Regions from separate parts of the Homo sapiens genome. Here regions 1 and 3 are each linked to region 2. The links are contacts of gene promoters, found by promoter capture Hi-C in blood cells and fetal thymus (Javierre and others, 2016). All regions are on one chromosome and are shown on one strand. The core of a region is centred on a gene start or on the middle of the fragment in contact, and the rest is flanking DNA. Distances in the headings are between cores, read along the strand shown. Region 1 overlaps PRPF31 (pre-mRNA processing factor 31). Region 2 holds the start of CTU1 (cytosolic thiouridylase subunit 1). Region 3 overlaps CNOT3 (CCR4-NOT transcription complex subunit 3).

Region 1 (4,722 bases), core at 1,348-3,847, 3.0 Mb before region 2:
ATGTCACAGCCAGTAGAAGGCAGAGCTCAGATCTGACACCAGGCAGGGCGGCGTCAGAGTCTGCACTCCTAACCCTGATGCTCAAATGGCTCTTTAAGTCCTTAAGACTCAGGCAGCGACTCAGAATCCTTCCCTCCCTTTCTGGAAGGATCAGACGCCTCCTCTGTGTACCCGCAGCACTTGTGCACCTCCAGTAAACAGGGACTGCCACAGCTTGTGAGATGTTTCACCTCTGCCTCCTCAACCAGACACCGGGTGTGACGGGGTCTGACTCCATCCCTGAGCCTGGCCTGACATCAGGAAATGTCACTTTCTGTGTCCCATAACCCTCTGGAGGGAGAAATTCCTTGGCCTGGCATCTGGAACTCTGCAGGATTCTCTCTCCGGATATCTGAGGCCCCGGGCCTGCCGCTGTCTTTCCCTGGGCCCCCTTCTCCCTTTCTTTGCCTGGCACATGCATTCATGCTCTACAGTCCAATTCAGCTATCGATTCTTCCTGACACCTGGGGCAGGGTCAGCCAGTCCCTCCTGTGGCTCCGGTGTCCCCAGCTTGGTACCACCACTGATAGCTGTCTGGAACCTGGCCTGCCTCTTCCACTAGACCTTGAGTACTTTGAGAGCAAAGACCTGGGCGATTCAACTGGGTGCCCAGGTAAACGTTAAAGAAAGCAAGCAGTGAGTCTCCCGAAACTCTGCCCTCTCACTACACTTCTTTCCCCAGAAACCTCCTATGGCTTCCTGTCATCAACAAATTCCATTCAAGAAGAATGGGAAGGCTGGGCGTAGTGGCTCATGCCTGTAATCCCAGCACTTTGGGAGGCCGAGGTGGGCGGATTACTTGAGGTCAGGAGTTCGAGACTAGCCTGGTCAACATGGTGAAACCCCATCTCTACTAAAAAATACAAAATAGCCAGGCATGGTGTTGCATACCTGTAATCCCAGCTATACATAAGGCTGAGGGAGGAGAATCGCTTGAACCCGGGAGGTGGAGGTTGCAATGAGCCAAGAACACATCACTGCACTCCAGCCTGGGCGACAGAGGGAGACTCTATCTCAAGGAAAAAAAAAAAAGAATAGGAATGGTAACAGGACTGCCCTCTTAAGAGTGAGTCTGAGCACTCATGAGATAAGCTAGTGTTCTCTCAATTTGGGCATGAGAAAAGGTTTTAGGTTATTTTTTTTTTTTTTGAGACGGAGTCTTGCTCTGTCGCCCAGGCTGGAGTGCAGTGGCACGATCTCGGCTCACTGCAAGCTCCGCCTCCCAGGTTCACGCCATTCTCCCGCCTCAGCCTCCTGAGTAGCTGGGACTACAGGCACCCGCCACCACGCCTGGCTAATTTTTTGTATTTTTAGTAGAGACGGGGTGTCACCGTGTTAGCCAGGATGGTCTCGATCTCCTGAACTCATGATCCACCTGCCTCCGCCTCCCAAAGTGCTGGGATTACAGGCGTGAGCCACGGCGCCCGGCCTTAGGTGGTTCCTAAATAATTATATATCTATTTTTATACAGTGACTTTGTCTTTGCCAAATGATACCAGTTTTCCATTCATGGTAGCAATTTGCTTCCTTCTCAGATAAATTTAAGAAAAAAAGTCCTAGACTCAAAGAATATGTTAAGCAAATAATAGGATAAGCGGCTTATAGATGTGGCAAAAACCCTGTAACCGGTCATGTGAATCAGTGAAGTCTGGGAAACCTCAAGCTGAGTCCTATCATGATCAGTAAGCTCAGCACACAGGAAGGACTTAAGAAGCATGAGCTTTACAATGCAATATATATTTAGTGGAAAAGGGAACGGGTTGGGGTGAAACAAAAAAAAAAGAAGGCTCTGGAAAAGGCTGAGAAGGAGATATACCCAGCCACAAGCAGCCAGGGAGCCAGGGGGCCTGGCAGGAGAGACAGGAGATGGGGAGGGGCACAGAGTGGGAGGAAGCACCTTCTGAAGCTTTGGCTTGCTTGCTGATATACTCCTCAATCTTCATCATAATCTCAGCAAACTGTAGGAAAGGAGAAGACAGTCAGAATCCAGCACTCTTCAAAAAGAAGCCTGTATCACCCCCTTCTGGGAGATTCTGTCTAGAGCCCCCTGCTAGGAACACCTCTTGTCCTCTTACCATCTTACTATCCCATAGCTTGGCGATGGTCTTGACTGAATCCCCGGAAAGATCCAGCTGTGTCTCCTCCTGCACATCCTCGATCGCTGGCTCCTCTTCTTCCTCCCCATAGCTTCCTCCTTCCTCCTCTTCTGCTGCCTCTTCGAGATCAGCTAAGAGCTCATCTGCCAGAGACATCCCGAGGCCTGGGGAGGGACAGCAGCGTTCCCTAAAAACTTGCCCCGACAAAGTCCCTCCTTATTACTGAGCGATGATTCTCCCCCAGAAGACCCTGGTCCTTCTTTATCAACCCCACTAGCATGCAGGCTCCACGACAACAGGTGCTTTAGTTTGTTTTGTTCACTGGCGAGTCTCCAGCTCCGACCTGTGCAAGACGCAGCACACCCCTATGACCGCCACCTTGCTAAGACTTACTGGAACCAAGTGGTGTAGATTCCAAATGCATTTGCAAACTTTCTTATTCCTTTCTTGCCTTTAGCCTTGAAAACATACTTTGAAATTCTTTGTTTCCCTCCTTTCCCACTAGATACTGTCTTGCACTGCTGGCTTATCTATGTGCTTACTTAGAAGTTCCAGGGGCTAATCTTTATTTATTTATTTTTTAAAGATGGAGTCTGGCTCTGACACCCAGGTTGGAGTGCAGTGGCGCAGTCTTGGCTCACTTGCAACCTCCACCTCCTGGGTTCAAGCGATTCTCCTGCCTCAGCCTCCTGAGTAGCTGGGACTACAGGCACCTGCCACCATGCCCAGCTAATTTTTTTTTTTTTTTTTTGTAGAGTCAAGGTTTCACTATGTAAGCCAGGCTGGTCTTGAACTCTTGACCTCAAGTGAGCGACCCACCTTGGCCTCCCAAACTGTTGGGATTACAGGCGTAAGCCACCGCGCCTCGCCGCAGGGGCTAATCTTGAAACAAACTAGGTATGGAAACCCAGCTGCAAAACTCCAGAGATCACCTCAAGGCGATCAATCTACAACGTGGCCATTGTTGACTTGACACCAGCCCATGCTCCAGGTGGCCCGTGACTCAAGACAGCCTTCGGAGCAAGACACACATACCTTGTACCCAGCACCACTCCTGTATGCCTCCCATTCAAAGTTCCCCTTTTTAAGCCCCTCTCCCCAGCCTAAAGCTTGAAATGGTCTTCTAAAGACATTAGCTTGGCCATTTCTCATCTGCGAGCATTTGATCAGTAAAGCTGCTTTACTTTCACCACCCCCCACTTCCTCTGCCTCTGAGTAGCAGAAACTTGAGTTGGTTACATTATCGGTCTCTTCCCGCCTCCAGGTCTTTGTACAGGAGTCCCTTGTAACTAAAGTGGCCCTTTCCTTCACTTTGTTTTTTCTTTTCTTTTCTTTTTTTTGAGACCATGTCTTGCTCTGTCACCTAGGCTGCAGTGCAGTGGCGCCATCATAGCTCACGGCAGCCTCGATCACCTGGGCTCAAGCGATTCTCCCGCCTCAGCCTCCCGATAGCTGAGATGACAGGCACGCACCAGCACGCCCGGCTAATTTTTAAATTTTTCTGTAGAGACAGGGTCTCACTGTGTTGCTCAGGCTGGTCTCAAACTCCTGGGCTCAAGCGATCCTTTCGCCTGGGCCACCCAAAGTGCTGGGATTACAGGAGTGAGCCATGGCGTCTGGCTCTCCTCACTTCTTAGTAGCCCAGCATCTCCTCAGCCTTCAGCTCTCACGTTCCACCTCCCTGACCCACACGCCCCACTCTAGACTACAGGAGGTTGCTTTGTGATAACGTGTCCCGCACGCTCTGCGTGTCTACAGTAAGGCACTTCACACATTTGTGATTAATGAAGTAATTATTTGATAAAGCCTGTCTGCCAGGCATCAACCAAAGCTCTAAGAGGGTAGCGAACAATTTTTGCTCCTTCCACATCCCCAGGGCCACACCATGGTAGGCGCATATTAAGACTTTTGGGTAAACAGGCTGTAAAAGGCCGGGAGCGGTGGCTCATGCCTGTAATCCCAGCACTTTGGGAGGCCCAGGCGGGTGGATCATCTGAGGTCAGGAGTTGGAGACCAGCCTGGCCAACATAGTGAAACCCCGTCTCTACTAAAAATACAAAAAACTAGCCGGGCGTGGTGGTGCGCGCCTGTAATCCCAGCTACTCGGGAGGCTGAGGCAGGAGAATCGCTTGAATCCGGGAGGCGGAGGTTGCAGTGAACCGAGATCGCGCCACTGCACTCCAGCCTGGGCAACAAGAGCGAAACTCCGTCTCAGACAAAACAAACAAACAACTGGCCAGGCGCGGTGGATCATGCCTGTAATCACAGCACTTTGGGAGGCCGAGGCGGGCGGATCACGAGATCAGGAGTTCGAGACCAGCCTGACCAACATGGGGAAACCCCGTCTCTACTAAAAATACAAAAATTAGTCAGGGGTGGTGGCGGGCGCCTGTAATCCCAGCTACTCTGGAGGCTGAGGCAGAAGAATCGTTTGAACCCGGGAGACGGAGGTTGCAATGAGCCGAGATCGCGCCACTGCTCTCCAACCTGGGCAACAGAACGAGACTCCGTCTCAAAACAAACAAACAACAAAAAAACAAAAACCAAGCTGTAAAGACCCGCCTTTTTCCTCACACACTTCTTCTCC
Region 2 (5,081 bases), core at 31-2,530:
AAAAAAATGGGCTACAGGGTGCATGGGGTTCCTTCTCACGTCATCACCGGCCGTAGACCTACACATCCTGGGGCTCTCTGCACATCTCCACATCTCAGTCTAAGGCTCTGGTGGTCCCTTAATCTAGAGGATTTTTTTTTTTTTTTTGAGACAGAGTCTCACTCTGTGGCCAGGCTGGAGTGCAGTGGCGCGATCTCGGCTCACTGCAACCTCTGCCTTCTGGGTTCAAGCCATTCTCCTGCCTCAGCCTCCCGAGTAGCTGGGACTACAGGCGCGCACCACTACGCCCAGCTAATTTTTGTATTTTTAGTAGAGATGAGGTTTCACCATGTTGGCCAGGATGGTCTCCATCTTTTGACCTCGTGATCCACCCGCCTCGGCCTCCCAAAGTGCTGGGATTACAGGTGTAAGCCACCGCGCCGTCTAGAGGAATTTTGAGCCTCAGTTTTTTCGAGGACCTAGGTTTGGGGACCTGGATCTCAAGGGTCTCAGATATCTGAGTCCTTAAACTCCTTGTGCCCCGGTATTTGAGTCACCGGGGTCTTCAAGACCCTTGGGCCTTGTGGGGAGGGTGGAGGCCTCCAGATCCCTGTGTCTAGGGTGCAGACGGTTGTCTCCAGGTCTACTGGTTCTCTCAGGTGCTTTGGTGCCAGGGGTCTGCGTTTTTAACCCCCTTAGTCTCAAGGGTCTGAGTCTCTGAGCCTCTGGGCTCCTGGGTTAGGTGAGAAGGGTCTTTGGATCCTTCTGTTTAGAGTCTGGGTCTCCAGCACGCGCATCACGACAGCCCCCGCGTGCGCGCGGAGTTCCACTCCAATCCTCGAAGTCTGCTCTACGCATGCGCTATCTGCGCCTTTTACACTAGCGACCAACCCCTGCAGTTCCACCTTCAATTCCCACCCGCAACCCCGCCTCAAAGGGCAGAAATCATAGGCCCTGTAATCCCCTTAAAATCCTATAATAATCCCACAAAATCAGTTAATCAGAATACAACTACTTCGCCCATCCAGCAACCTGCCGGGTGACAGCGCGCTGCCATGACAACAGTACACGCAGCTCCGCCGCTCCCTGCGGCCGCGCGCAGGCGCAGAAAGTAAACGCGGGGGGAGGGGGAGCAGTGTATTTTGGGAGCGGCAGAAAGAGCAATGCAAGTGTTTCTGGGAGTTGTAGGCCAAGCGGGACCCCGGAGCCGTAGGCGCATCCAGCGGAAGTGTCGCATGGGCTTCTGGGAGTTCTAGGCAAGAAAGCCCCAAGACCTTATGGGAGTGGTAGTCTCGGAGTCACTTCCGGGCCAGGCTTCCGCGTGGTGGGCAGTGTGGGCATCCCAGCACTGAGTTCTGCCCGGGTGAGTATTTCCTCCTGCGGTGGGTCGGCATGTGGACTCCGGCTCTTTGTTGCGGTGCCGTGGGAGGGTTGAGGGTCTCTTCGAGCGTAAGGCCTCTGTGATTTCCCAGCGCCCGTGTCCCTGAGGCCTTGTAGCCAGGATTCCCACTTTGAACGCTGCGGTCCGGCCTGTCTCTTACCGGGCCACTCCCTTCCCCAAGACAGGATAAGACCATCTGCTTGCCCCCGCCCCTATGTTACTATCTGCCTGTCCCCGCCCCCATGCCACACATTATCTGTCCTTTTGACAAGGCTGCAATCCAGAGGCATCCCTGGGGTCCGCGGCCTCTCTTCTGGGAGCACTTATTATTCCCTCATCCTACAGATACTTACTGAGCACCGACTCTGCGCAGGGCGGCGGGAGCGAGGGCACCAGACCAACCCTGTCCCTGCCTTGAAGCAGAGAGACAGACCTGTCACCAGTGACAGCTAGTCAGGATCAGGGCAGCTCTGAGGGCCCTGGTGGAGGCGCTCGACTCAGTGACGAGGGTCCATAAAGTCTTTGAGGGAAGACGCTTAACATGCATGTCAAACCTGACGTGGCCAAATGGAATTCCTGGTCTTCTCACCTCACAAAATGGCCCCACCGTCCCTCCAATGCTCAGGCCAGAACCTCAAAGTTACCCTTCATCACTTTCTCTCGTCGTTGCCCCAGTCCCCACTCCAATCAGTCTTATACAAGTCCTGTGGGCTCCACCTTCAAAATAGATCCAAAATTTCACTTCTTCCCACCTCTACTGCCAGCACTCCTGTCTAGTGTGCTGACCTCCAGCCTTCTGTCCTTGTCCCTGACAACCAACAGTCCTCCCCACACAGCAGCCAAACGAATCCCACTTTTTTTATTTGAGACAAGGTCTCACTCTATCACCCACGCTGGAGTGCACTGGTGCGATCATGGCTCACTGCAGCCTTGACCTCCTGGGCTCAAGTGATCCTCCTGCCTTGGCTTCCTGAGTAGCTGGTACTACAGGCCTGTGCCACCAGGTGCAGCTAATTTATTTATTTATTTTTTTAGAGATGGGGTCTCGCTATGTTGACCAGTCTAGGAATCCTTTTAAAACATGCCAGATCATACCACTTTACTGTTCAAAAACCTCCCAAGGCTCCCATCTCCTCCTGAATAAACCTAAAATTCCACATCATGGCCTATGAGGCTCTGCTAACTTGTGCAGCCTTGTCCCCTGCGAGCGTCTCCCTTCCTCAGGACGTGGACCCCCCAGGACTGGGTGACTGTAGATTTAGGGGGTGAGGAGAGATGAGTCCAGGGTGACGTTACGTCCTGTCCTGCAGATGGGCTGGATGAAAGGTGGTGGCTGCTCTCAGAAGAGAGGGAACAGATGGGCAAGAACAGGTTTCTGCCTTTCGAGGAAGAAATAGGTTGTCTGGGCGCTTAGGGTCTGAACATCTTTAAGGTGCCCCAGCCATGTGGAGGACCAGCCAGGAGGGACATCTGAATATCATGATTCAGAGGCGCTCATAAGAATGGAAAGAAGCTGGGCACAGTGGCTTACGCCTGTAATCCCAGCACTTTGGGAGGCCGAGGCGGGCGGATCACTTGAGGTCAGGAGTTCAAGACCAGCCTGGCCAACATGGTGAAACCGCATCTCTACTAAAAATACAAAAAAAAAAAAAAAAATTAGCCAGGCATGGTGGTACACGCCTGTAGTCCCAGTTACTCGGGTGGCTAAGGCAGGAGAAACGCTTGACCCTGGGAGGCAGAGGTTACAGTGAGCCGAGATTGTGCCACTGCATTCCACCTGGGTAACAGAGCCAGACTCCATCTCAAAAAATTAAATTAAATTAAATTAAAAATCTTTAAAAAATGGAAAGAGATGGGTGCTAGGCAGGACCTGAGGACATGAAGAGGCGTCCCCAAAAGAGAATTGAGCAGGAAATCCAGGAGCACAGAAGGAGTGAGTCAAAAGTCGGGGGAAGAAAGATTCCAAGAGTTGCTGCTCACCTGTGACAGATGTTCCCGACGGTCACTGCAGATGAGTCCTAAGGGCTGCTTCTTGGGCTCAGTGGCAGGAAGAGTACTCAGGGCAGAGGGGAGAGCCAGTGCAAACATCTGGAGCAGGAGTATTCCTCAGGTGTCAGAGTAAACGACATCAAGGCTGAAGGAGAGGAGGTTGGAGAAACAAGGAGCCACACATGTAGGGCCTCATCGGCCATTAGCAGTTATTATACTAAAGTGAGATGGGATCCAGGGGAGGATGCTGAGAAGATTCAGGGCATGATCCCACTGGCTGTTATGTGAAGGAGTGTTTGTAGAGGAGGCAAGGCGGGAGCAGGAGACCTGTGGGGAGCCCCATGCAGCCGTCCAGGAGAGAGACAGACCAGACTAGGGTGCTGCCGTGGAGACGGTCCTAAGTGTTTGGCTGTTTTGAAACTACATTCAAACAGGATTTGCTAAATTTCATTTAGGTACCTGGAGTTTGAAAAGGTCCGGACTTGGCATTGCAGTTTGGTGCCACCCACTGGGAGCATGACAAGTGCAGTGAGAGAAAGAGCAGTCCAGGGTCCTGGACCCCAAAGCTCCTGGCCTGAGCAGCTAGAAGGATGGAGCTGCCCTGTACTCCAGGAGAAGCACGCTGGGTTAGAAGAATCAGGAATTTGGGTTTTGAGATGCCTATTAGACATCTGAGTGGTACTGGTCTCTGCCCTCATAGAAGTTAGAGATGGTAAATATATAGTCACATAAAATAATTCCACACATTGTGGTAAATCCTAGAAGCAGCGTGACCTGCTCTGAATGGCAAGGAGGTGACTACAGTAGTCCAGGCTGGAGGTGATGGTGGCTTGGGGAGGAGAACTGAGCCTGGGGAGTTTTTATGGGTTCACCAGGCAGGCAGGACCAGGATTTGACTGGAGGGTTGGAGTCTAGGCTGGGTGGGGAAGAATGAAGTAGGAAAGATAACAGATGAAGGTCAAAGATGGGCCGATCCATGTCTTGGTGAGAGCACAGAAGCTTGTGGGGCATTCTGATACCAGAGCAGGGTTGAGTTCAATCTTGGAGGCCCACCCATTTTCTCACCCTCAAAATGTGTGCAACCCCAGCTGGTCTCCTGAGAGGTGTGATCCAGGCTGCCTGTGTTCCCTGGAGAAGGTGATCACCCTGCCTTTCATAGGATGCAATCAGAACCCATTCCTGGAGACCGTATCCCACCCTACAAAGTGCAATCAGTTGGCCTTTCCTGTTTTCCACCTCCCGCTGCACAGAGCTTCAGTCCCCTGGCCTCCCTCTGCCCTTAGAGTCAAAAACCCCTCACCTCCCAAGGGCTTTTAACAGCCCTGGTGGCCCAGGCCAATGATACCTACCTTGTCCTGATCAGGACTGTAACAAGGGTGGCCTCCCTGGAGGTTGTGACAAATGGGCCTTAATATACACCCCCATCCCTCTGGAGAGGACACAACCTAATCCTGGGTATAACCTGCTTGTCGCTCCCTCTCTTTACCCATGAAGCCAGCTTCTTAAGCTACTTCTCTTCTTCTTGCATAATGGGTGCAATCCAAGAAGCCTTCCCTAAGGCAGTGGCTTCCTTACACCGGACCTATTTATAACCATCCTATCCCCAGCGCTAGAAGAAGCTACTCCACTCGCGCACACGTCTCCCTGGTCTATTCCGGGCAGAGGTGCAATCCAGACAATCTCCCCGATGGCAGGGACCCTGCAATCCGGAATCCATATGTAACCCACCTCC
Region 3 (5,124 bases), core at 1-2,500, 3.0 Mb before region 2:
TTGCGCTTGTCCGCCATCTTCCCTGCCCTACAGACGCACTCTCTTCATACTCTCTTGGAGACGGACGCTGCTAGGAGAGATTGGAGAGGAATTAACACGTATTCCCTGGCTGGTAAAAACCCAGAGACATGGACCTAGTCAGCATAGTGAGGTAGGTGGGACTGGTAAAGAGAAGAAGCATTTGCTATCTGACAAGAGACCAGCCCCAGTTCTCCTGATGCTCGCTTGACTGCCCAGCATAGTGTCTGGCCAACAGGGGACCCCATAAGTTTGTTGAAACAAGAAAAGTTACATACTTTTTTGTGTGCCTCTGACTCAGGAAGTGGAAAATTCCTAGAGCATGGAGTACCTTCTCCCCAGAATACACTCAAAAAGGTTTTTCAGAGCAGGACAGTCATGCTGCACACAGCTGATGACTGGGATGGAGGCATTAGCCCTGGAGATCACACTTCCTACTCAGAGGGGCTGGGCAGAGGTGGCTAGGAGAGGTCATCCCTCAGACAAGTCAGGAGACAAATGAAACTGGCAGCTCACAGAGAAGGGCGTGTGTGTGTGTGTGTGTAAGCTGTAGGTAGGAGAAGAAAGATTGGGGGTGGGGGAAAACGACGGCGAGCAGAGATGCCGAAAGCTGTGAAGAGCTGAACCCGCTCATGCAGACAGGGCTGAATGCCAAGTAGAAGGGACTCAAACCACCAAGACATTTATTCCAGAGCAGGATCCTTAAACCAAAAGGAAATAACACTCCTAACCCAAAGAAGCTAATACCAAGAAGGCTTAGAGATTTGGGGGCAGAAGGCAGTACCCAAGAGAGACCTGGGAGAAGACAGAAATCTTACTAAGATAAGAGGGTGCAAAGGTACCGCAGCTGTGAGGGAGCCGATCTGCACTCACGGAGGAATCCCATAGCAAGTGGATTGGTAATTTAGAGTCAGGGAGACATAGACCATCAGGGCAGGAACCCAAAACTTCAAGAGAGGAGCGTCTTTATTTTAAAGGAAGTTACCTGGAACCCAGAGAAGACTGAGGTCAAAAGGGAGTTCCAAGGAGCTTTAGTCCAAGGGAAGACATACCTTAGGGCCTGACAGCGAGACCAGGGGAGCCCTGGGAAGAGAGGCTTATGCCTCAGAAGAAGACTTCTGAGATACCAGCGGAGATTGCCCTCTTCCCCTCCAGGGAGGGGGCCTACAATGAAAAGCACAGTTCCCTGGGATCCACGGGCCGCTCCCACTCTACGTGTGCAGGGCAGGGAACCCTGGAGTAGTCACTTACTGTAAAGACAGAAACAGCCCCATACTGAGGAACAAGAGCCTCAATACAGAGGGAAGTCACACCAAAAGAGTCCTCACCCACAAAGAAGGGAACATCTGGCAAACAGTGCTATCCAACAGAACTTTGCAATGCTGGAAACACTCTATTTGCGCATATCTGTTGGCCACTGAACATCTGAAATGTGGCAAGTGTAATGGAGGAACTGAATTTTTCATTTTTAACTAGTTACTAATCACCACATGTGACTAGCAGCAACCATATGGGACGGATATGCTTTAGAACAAGAAGCCCACAAAGGACAGGGCTGGTACCTTACCCCCAGGGAGAATTTTCCCAACACCGCAGGGACCCATTCTGGGTGATAATAGGTAGGGGTGCTACCTTACACTTGAGGGAATTTAAATCTCCTCAGTAAAAGGCCCAACCTAAAGAAAGCCGCAGCAGCCCCCGCCCAGGTCAGCTATCACGCCCTACCTGGGGAATCTCTAAGAAGGCAAAGCAACCAACAAAAGGACCCAGGAGAAGGTGCCACAGTGGGGATTCAGGCTGAGGAGGGGAAAGCCTCTTTGACCCAGGGAGCTCACACAAGGCAAGGGCCTGGACACCAGAGCTCAGGTGTGCAGGGATCCTCACCAAAGTCCAACACCCCAACACAGAAAAGCCTCTTACTGCATAGGGGGAACAAGAATGTGAAACGAGAGTTTACACTCCCTCTTTCCATCCCAAGAACCCAACAGAGGGTCATGGGCAGGTGCTCCAGCCCAGAGAGAGAAGAGGTCTCATGGTCTACACCCCTAAACAAGGCAATCAACACCTTAGGCAGGTGACGCCCTCCCTGTGTCTCCACACGGAAAGGACTGGTATCCTAGTGCAGAGGAAGAATACCCACAGACAGGAGACCACACTGTGGCAGCAAGAGAAGGAAGTCCTGGAGGGGTCACAAGCCAGGAGGAGGGGAACAAGAGCGCTAACCCAGGGAGGTGATGTTTCAGACAGAACAGTGTGACATCGAAGTCGGCTACAGCTGAGACCCAGTGAGGAGGCAGCTCCTCCACAGAGAAGGGGCAAGTGCCAGAGGCCCAGGGTACTTGTCCCCTAGAGAGGCTGGAGCCTTAGCCACAGTAGAGACAACACCTTCCCCGCTAAGAAAATCCCTATATCATGAGGGTATCTGTACCTCTGGTCCCCCCAGCAAAGGACCAGAGAGAAGGGAAGCTGGAGCCTGAGTCTCGAAGCAGAGACGCCGCCAGAGAAGAAAGAGCCCCATTTGCTGTAGTCAGGGGGGCATCCACCAAGATCCTCCAAGGAAGGTGGTGATCGCAGGTCCACTCTCAGGCGTGAAGAACCTGTGCTCCAGCAGCAAAGGCTCTCCAAGAGCACTGAGGAATCTGGGAACCTCGGCCCAGGAGGAGACTTACCCAAGAGGAACACACATCCCCACAGGGAAGGGACCCACAAGGCGGGTGGCGGGGTGGGGGGAGGTGAGCAGGACACCAGCCTCACAGGAGCCAACACGCTAAAATCAGAGCCAAAACCAGTAAAGAAGAGCCCCCCAGACTTCATCTCAGGGAAGATGATACCACCACACAAAGACTCGAGGAGGGAGGGGCAGGAGGTCAGCCCTGGGAAACTAACACCGGGTGGTCCTTAACCTTGGGGGCCGTCATGTGCCCACAGAGTGGTCTTTGTCATGAGGCACCTTTGATCTGGGAGAGCTTCCGCCTCTGCAGCAAGGAGCTCTGAGAAGTGATGTTGAAGGGTGATCCTTAACCCAGGTGGCTGCTGACGTGGCCACACAGAGGCTCTGAGACTCCAGAAGAAGGATGCGTTAGGGCCTGGGGTAGAGGTAGTCATCTCCACTGAGATGCCCCATGCCAAGGGTGGGGGGCTGGAATCTCCCACCTTGGAAAGTCTACACCAGAGAAGTCTCTGGTCCCAGGGACAGGGTCTACAGTGGAGTCTCCCGCTTGAGACTCAGGTATCTTACATCCACACAGCCAGGAAACTATGCCTTACCCCATACAGTGACAAATCAAGAGGGGGTTTTGGAAGCATTAGCCGGGGGCACCTGCATCCGAGAGGGGTCCTCAGCCTTACGGTGGGGACACATGCAGAGGCGTGGACACCTCAAATCCAGAAAAGCAGCCATACCAATACCAAGGATGGCAAGAACCTTATCCCTGGGGGAGGTGACACCAAGAAAGGGTCCTTACCCTGGAGAGAAGGCACAGCCCCAGAGGGAAGAGCCCCCACCTCGCAGTACAGGAACCCGGGTCTAGGAAGCTTCCTACTCTCATGGGGTACCAGCAGCGGGGCCAGAAGGCGAAACCCTTGTTCTCCAACTGCTGACACCCAGCGTAAGGGTAGATGGGAAGTCAACAAACCCACAGTGTGGGATCTGATGCAAATATCAAGGGCAGTGGGCTTCTTGGTCCTTGGAGAGCTGACACCCTAAAGGAGGAGACTGGTGTGAAGATGGAAGAAGCCTCATACTCAGGCAGGGGTGAAGGGAGGGAGGGGAGACATCAAAACCCCTCACCAAAAGGACAGGAGAGCTCACCCCGGGGTGGGTGGCCGCCCTGCACTGAGAGGCAGGGACTGCTCAGAAAGAGGGGCTGGTGCTGCCCGCAGTGGGAGCTCACTAACATGGACAGCGTGGCGGCTTAGTGTCTTTCACCAGGCACCTGAGCGCCAGGGGATCCCAGCAGCCCCCAGCAACAAGACCACAGTGGTCCTGATATCACTGGGAGACGCCCACACCCAGAAGGTCGGAGAGTCACGATGCAGGGGAGTTCAAGGCTGCAAAGCCAGGGGCAGACGCCAGGATCAAAGAAGTGTGAGAGCTGAGACCAGACGTGGGCCACACTGAGGACGGTCCTGTACCCCAGGTGGGGGAAAGCCAAACTCCCCCAAAAAGGCAGGCGCCCAGTGCAGCGGGATGGCGAGGCTGGAGCCACCCAGGGCGCTACTCGCTATGAGAGGGAAGAGCTGCAGACTACAGAGGTGGAAACTTCGGCAAAGGCTCCAACTAACGGGGAGTTTCTCCTCCACTCCTCTCCCAAGAGGCTCCCATCCGATACAGACGGGCAGCTGGAACCTGAGATCCAGGGGAGGCTGCGCTCCCGGGAGCAGTGAGGAGGGATGCGGAGGGCGGCCTCGGTCCTGGGAAGGGTGACTCCCCCACCCAGCTGGGGTCCTCGTCCCGACCACCACCCCCCCTCCCCGCCACCGTCGAGGGAGAAGCCCCGGCGCGGAGGCTGCCCCACAACGCGAAGGACCGAGGCCGAGGGGGGCAGGCACCTGAGCCCCGAGAGGGCGGGCACCTGGGACCAGGGGCGCCTCCATCCTTCCAGCCAGGAGCCAATACCGACGCGGAGAGGGGCGGGCACCTCGCGCCCGGGAGGCTTCGCACCCTCACACCCCTACCGGGGGGCCCGACGCGATGCCACGCGGGGAGGCGGCGGCGGGCGGGGCCCGGGGTCCGGGTCGCGGAAGGACCCCCGGGAGGCGCTGAGGAACGTGAAAGAGGCGCAGGAACGGGAGGGCGAGAGGGAGGGAGCCGCCCCCCGCCGGGAGCCCCGCGCTGCAGAGGCGGCGGCAGGGGGCAGGCGAGGGGAGGCCATGTCGCGACAGACGGCGGTGTCGCCAGGGCGGGAGGCGGCGGGGAGGGCGGCCGATGGCGCCGGGGGGAGGAAGGGAAGGGGTCCGGCCCAGTCGAGCCTGACGCTCTCACCACAGGAGCTGGCGCCGCCGCTGAGGAGCGTATCGCGACAGGCGGGGGAGGCGAGCGCCCGCCGCCTTTTTCTCGCGCCCCGGGCCCGGGCGCTATCGCGATAGCGGCGCGAAGCGGAAGTG

What was found. Contacts are between HindIII fragments. The CHiCAGO score rates a contact against its expected background, and 5 or more counts as called.
Region 1: a fragment that was not itself captured here is called in contact with the fragment with the promoter of CTU1 in region 2 in 3 of 17 cell types (fetal thymus, naive CD8 T cells and naive CD4 T cells); the score reaches 5.8 in fetal thymus.
Region 3: a contact is called between a fragment that was not itself captured here and the fragment with the promoter of CTU1 in region 2, in 1 of 17 cell types (naive CD8 T cells). The highest score is 6.3, in naive CD8 T cells.

The regions. Positions count from the first base shown.
Region 1 is chr19:54,115,848-54,120,569 of GRCh38, reverse strand. It overlaps PRPF31 (pre-mRNA processing factor 31), which reads right to left. Exons shown (of 14, transcript NM_015629.4): 2 at 2,115-2,299; 3 at 1,937-1,997. The coding sequence starts at 2,291. It overlaps PRPF31-AS1 (PRPF31 antisense RNA 1), which reads left to right. Exons shown (of 4, transcript NR_186329.1): 4 at 178-1,060. Among named protein-coding and RNA genes, the nearest start is that of PRPF31, 2.5 kb to the right of the region's middle. The HindIII fragment of the contact is 1,299 bases long and covers 1,948-3,246 here.
Region 2 is chr19:51,104,608-51,109,688 of GRCh38, reverse strand. CTU1 (cytosolic thiouridylase subunit 1) reads left to right here and starts at 1,280. Exons shown (of 3, transcript NM_145232.4): 1 at 1,280-1,342. RefSeq lists an enhancer at 985-1,314. The HindIII fragment of the contact is 4,633 bases long and covers 1-4,350 here.
Region 3 is chr19:54,137,872-54,142,995 of GRCh38, reverse strand. It overlaps CNOT3 (CCR4-NOT transcription complex subunit 3), which reads right to left. Exons shown (of 18, transcript NM_014516.4): 1 at 5,003-5,124; 2 at 1-67. The coding sequence starts at 17. Among named protein-coding and RNA genes, the nearest start is that of CNOT3, 2.7 kb to the right of the region's middle. The HindIII fragment of the contact is 4,608 bases long and covers 1-3,554 here.